2 separate regions of the Homo sapiens genome follow, and region 1 is linked to region 2. The links are contacts of gene promoters, found by promoter capture Hi-C in blood cells and fetal thymus (Javierre and others, 2016). All regions are on one chromosome and are shown on one strand. The core of a region is centred on a gene start or on the middle of the fragment in contact, and the rest is flanking DNA. Distances in the headings are between cores, read along the strand shown. Region 1 overlaps CMC1 (C-X9-C motif containing 1). Region 2 holds the start of NEK10 (NIMA related kinase 10).

Evidence for each region. Contacts are between HindIII fragments. The CHiCAGO score rates a contact against its expected background, and 5 or more counts as called.
Region 1: a fragment that was not itself captured here is called in contact with the fragment with the promoter of NEK10 in region 2 in 16 of 17 cell types (naive CD4 T cells, naive B cells, monocytes and 13 more); the score reaches 13.3 in naive CD4 T cells.

The regions. Positions count from the first base shown.
Region 1 is chr3:28,288,265-28,291,006 of GRCh38, forward strand. All of the region lies in intron 2 of CMC1 (C-X9-C motif containing 1), which reads left to right. Among named protein-coding and RNA genes, the nearest start is that of CMC1, 48 kb to the left of the region's middle. The HindIII fragment of the contact is 1,906 bases long and covers 416-2,321 here.
Region 2 is chr3:27,368,086-27,370,797 of GRCh38, forward strand. NEK10 (NIMA related kinase 10) reads right to left here and starts at 1,298. Exons shown (of 36, transcript NM_001394966.1): 1 at 1,140-1,298. RefSeq lists an enhancer at 556-1,056. The HindIII fragment of the contact is 2,054 bases long and covers 1-1,505 here.

The DNA of each region.
Region 1 (2,742 bases), core at 119-2,618, 920 kb after region 2:
AGTGAGTTTACCTTTATCATAAAGAGTAGCATATATTTCTGATTATGAGCCAAGTGATATCAAATAATTTAATAAAATTATATATTTTGACGTGTGTAAATACATCTACTTTATCTCCATCTTGTGGTAGAAGTATCTGAAAATCCTGTTAAGAATATCATTAAAGCTTATTCATTTTTACATTGACTTATCCTTGCTCTTTCTCATTACCGTAAATGTAACATTAAGTGTTAAATGTTTCTTTAGGAAATTTTGGGTCTTACTAAAGGAGCCAACTGAAAATAATTTTAGGTTTTATAGTTACTATTGAAGGTAAATGTACAACTGCAACTGCCACATTTTGACTGTGTGTTGGAATATTAAAACAAGGAATATAAACATTTAAATCATAGTTGAGAGGAAAAACAAAAAAGAAAGCTTTAGCTGCTTCATTGCAAATGTAGCTTTGTGTTGTTAAAGAGGATTATGATGAATACATTTGTGTGATAAATTTATAAAGTTTGATAAATTGTTTCATACTGACTAATATTTTTTATAATTTTTATTTTTATAATTTTTTAAAGTATACTCACAGTCCTTTTGTGGATAATTATGATTGTAAGAATATTTTTGCAAGTAAATGAAAAAGTGATTATTAAAACACTTTGTAAACTGTAGCATTTTATACAAATACATAATCTTATCTTTTAAAAATATATAATATGAAATATTTGGTTGGGAAGACCATCTCAGAGGTTTAAAAACATATTTCCAATCAGGTCTATTTGTATCATTCTTTTATTTTCTTTTTATTTTTTTGATGAGTTTCTTTAAATATATTTTTAAAATTTTATGTTCTTTGAGGTTTTTTTTAAGTTTTTGAATTAAGACTAATACAGTCTGCAAAGCAGTATTAATTTAGAGTTATGTTTCAATATAGAAAAGTCTCGATGAGTGCTCTAAAAATTCTGAAAGAATTTTTTTAGTTAAATTCTAAGATTTCAGGAAGAATTTTGTGTAGCAAATAAACTTTAGCTAGGTATCATTTAGATAGTTTCTTTTTAAAATTCGTTTTGTTTATCTTACTAAGTATTGGGGAAGGAATAGTCTGTGAAATGGAAACACCTAAATTATTTATTAAAAGATATTCCAAGTAGGTAGTAAGATATAAAAGCCGAGTATAACATGAGATATTTGTAGGACAATGAGAAGGTTAGTTTAATTATATAAAACAATTTAGTTGCCATTTAGGGTCGTATTTTGGTGCTCCTTGAAAGCCAGGCAAAGAATTTTAGAAGTCATATAATAGAAAACAGGGATTTTTATGCTGCAAAGATCTTTATTTAGGGAGAAAGTCTGTGATCTCAGAAACTTAACGTTAGATGAAGCCTGTGAGGTTAACTACTACCAATGCAGGAATCTTTCTAACAATATGTGAGACTTCATTTTCAATACCTCTACTCTACTTCAGGCTTTCAGTATTTACTTCCTTTTTGCATTTTATTGTTGTGGGGGAAAACAACATCATGCTTTTAATAAAAAGGATATTCAATTTATGTAAGTAATGTAGAAAATATAAAATGCATTCCAAAAATTACTCTAAATTCTACCATTCACAAAGACAGACATCTCTCTGGGAACAAAAGGATAATACAAAGGGATTATATTATATACACTACTTTTTTAGTGGAATTTATAAAACAAAAGATTTGCTAAAGTTTATGTAAATGTTTCTTGATAAAAGGTTACTTGCCTCCATTACAAGAAAACATATGAAACCCACTGACAAGTTTGAGTGATTATGTTTTAACTCCATATTCTAATTTTGAACAGTATTGAGTGATTCCCTTGTATGAAAGTACAGTTATACTTCCCCCACCTTTTCTCTTTCAGGTCCCAGTTTCTGTAAGTTGTAATTTTACATTGTCATAATTTATAATACTTATATTCTTGTCTGTAACCATAAATCCAGTGCTCATCACATTTTGTCTTTAAAAATTTTTTTTTGATCTGTTGCTTGATTTTATTGCCAATAGTTAATTTAATAAGAGTCTTTGGGTTCTAGAATCCTTGATATCTTTCATGGTTGGGAATGACTGCTTGTTGCCTAATAGATTTGTGACATGTAGAGTGGATATAATATTGTCAGGTCGTATTTTCTGTACCTCAGAACTTTGTAGATACACATTGCATCAGTATTTTATGACATTAAATGTTGCTCTGGGAAGTCTGAGAGCAGCCTGATTTTCATCCCCACCCCACCTTGCAATCATCCTACCATAGGTGACGTGATTTTTCTGGTTGGATCCTAGAAGAATTCTTTCTGTATCCTTGAGTTTGGAAGCTTAACTGTGATATATCTTGTATCAGTTCTTTCTGGAACATACTGTGCCCTTTTGGTTTGTACATTTTTTTTAATCAGAAAACTTTTCTTAAATTATAATTGAAAATGTTTTTTGTTTCCTTTTTCTGGGGGAATTTTTTTCCTCAGAGATAACCAATCATCCTTGGAACTTTAAAACGAGGATTAACATTTGATGGTATTTACTGCATAACTAATTATTCCAAAATGTAGTGGCTTAAAAGAGCACATATTTATTAATCTCATAGTTTCTGTGAGTCAGGTATCTCGGTATGACAACTGGGTCTTCTGCTTCAGTTTCTCACAAGGCTGCAATTAATGTGTTGGCTAAGGAGGGTCTGTGGTCTCATCTGAAACCTTGACTGGGGAAGCATCTGCTTTGAAGGTCACTCATGGTTGTT
Region 2 (2,712 bases), core at 48-2,547:
AGTTCGAGACCAGCCTGACCAACATGGTGAAACCCCTTCTCTACTAAAAATACAAAAATTAGCCAGGCGTAGTGGCTCGCGCCTGTAATCCCAGCTCTCTGGAGGCTGAGGCATGAGAATTGGTTGAACCCGGAAGGCGGAGGCTGCAGTGAGCTGAGATCGCTCCACTGCACTCCAGCCTGGCAGCACAGCAAGACTCCTTCTAAAAAAGGAGTCTTTTTTAGAAGGACTCCATATATATATATATACACATATATATATATCAGTTCAACAATGGTGGGGAAAAAAGTGGATTGGATAGATAGGGCCAGACTAGAATCGGAGAAGCCAGATGGGTGTTGAATTTAACCAACCGATGGTGGAAATTGAGACAGTAAAAATAGAGATGGTAATGTGGGAATTGATTCAACACCTATTAAGAAGGGATAGTCTTGATAATTGATAGAGATGCAGAGGAAGCAGCAGTAAGTGTCATGGATGTCGTCTAGAGTGTAGTTTTTGAAAGCTGAATGGATAGTGATGCCCAAAATAGGGAATCCAAGAGCAGCAGCAGACATGGGGAAGATGGCGTTCAGGGTTGCACATGTGTGGCGTTAACTTGGCAGCTGGATTTTGGGGTCTGACAGTTAGTAGAGCAGGCTAGGTTCCAGTTGGAGACTTTCTAATCATCGTCAGATAGATGGTGCCTGAGGCGAGGAAGTGGAAGGGCTCACCGAAGTAGGGCAGAAAAGCAGAGGGGCAAAGTCAAAGCAGCATCCTGTAAGGAGAAGGCAGAAAAGCGACGCTCATAGAGATGAAGAATGAACCTCCAGAGGCGTCGGAGCAGATTGGAAGAGACACATTCAGGCTCCATTTAACCAGAATAATTCCGTTATCAAAATGGAAGCGCCAAGAAGCATCGTTGATGGCGCTTTCCCACCATCCATCCGTCCAACACAAACCCACCTGCTTTGAAAAGACTGCCTCACGCAGTGACTCACTTACCCACCACAGCCGCATTCTCTACCTCTGCCTCTTGTCTAGTGAAGCTGGCTCCCGAGGCTTCGGGGCCGCTCCACAGGGACCTGAGGACGTCTCCCCGGAGACCCTGACTCAAGCTGCTCGCCGGCACAGCCGAGCACCGGCTCCCGCCTACTCACCGCGCGGGAGGGACGGTCCCTCCTTCAGGCCAATCTCCTTATCATTGTCCCTGCTGCTGTCACCTGCTGCTGCAGACCGGGGGTCCCGTCCAGTCTCAGCCCGTCCCGTCCTCCCCCCAGCCTATTCCCGGTCCCCTCAACCTCAGGGACACCGCGGCCAGCTGCACCGTTGGTTTTCCAATCAAATCCTCCTCCAGGCCACCAACCAGCGCTGGCCAGGCCAATGCCGACAATTCTTCCTCCGCCACCTGGGGCGCCTCAGCCAATCGGGAGCAGCCATGCTGCGCAGTGCAGAACGCCATAGCGACGGATGACGCCTGCCGGGGAATCGCCGTAGCAACCAGAGACGCGCTAGATCCACCACCAAGCTTGCAAGCAGAAGAGGCAGCAAGTGATGCTGAAGGCTGTGCTGCAGCCACTTCACCGGAACCTAGAGCTACCTGTGAACAGGTCTCCTACACGTTGAAGATTTTTCTGGATTTAGGGTGTCTAACCTTTGATGGGAAAGGGCAGCTTCATCTTGGAGTGTTTACTTTCAAGAATTGCTATGGGCTAAAAATCAATTCTCTTTAAAAGCAAAGATTTAATCTGATAAGGAATCAATGCAGCATGCTAAATACCTTTCATATGGCATGAAAACGTCTTCAGTTACTCAAGCCACAGGCAATGAGAATAAGGTGCCACAGCACCGTATTTTTCACAAAAAGAGTGACCTGGGATTCAAGAAACCTGTATAGTATAACTATCGCCAGTTCGTTTTGTGGCTTTGGGCAAGTCACTTCACCTTTTGTGAAAGTCTGGAGCTTCTTTAAAATTTCTGAACTGCATTAGATAACGCTTTAAAAATATACCTGACATTCTGTAACTTTAAATAAATGAAAAATGCCAATCTATTAAGTGCTTAATTTTGTGCCGGGCACGATTTCAAATTCTTTCCTTATTTCACTTAGTTATAAAATGGAGGCACAAGAAGTTTCCTAAGTAGTCCAGTATGGCAGAGCTAGTGATGGAGTCAGGGTAAAACCTACTTCGAGTCTGGTCTTAACCACGATGATGCTCCTTCGACGATTTCTTCGAGTACTGGGCCCTGTTCAACCTCATCTTGGTATCACTAAACGCTCGTGTGTGTGTCTGGTGGTTACATCTTCCCAAACTGGATTTTAAATGAATACAGTGAACCCTAACGTTTTTCTGGTGTGGATAGTAAGTAGGCCCATTGGATTAACAATACTTAAGCTTGGGTAATTGAAAGCATTTTTTAAAATGAAGACGGTCCTATTTTGGAAATGCAGAAAGGCGAGATGAAAGCCAAACTCTGGTGAGTATAGCAGAACTAATTAAACTTCAGAGATCTAAAACAATCAGGATTAATGTTACCAATAAAACAAAACAAGGTGACGGGGCAGGAAGACCGATGCTGAGTAGAAAAAGTATTCTGTACATACATTCTAAATGTTAAGCAGTCGGCCTGGCTTGGTGGCTCACACCTGTAATCCTAGCACTTTGGGAGGCCGAGGCAGGAGGACCACTTGAGGTTAGGAGTTCGAGACCAGCCTGGCCATCATGGCCAAAC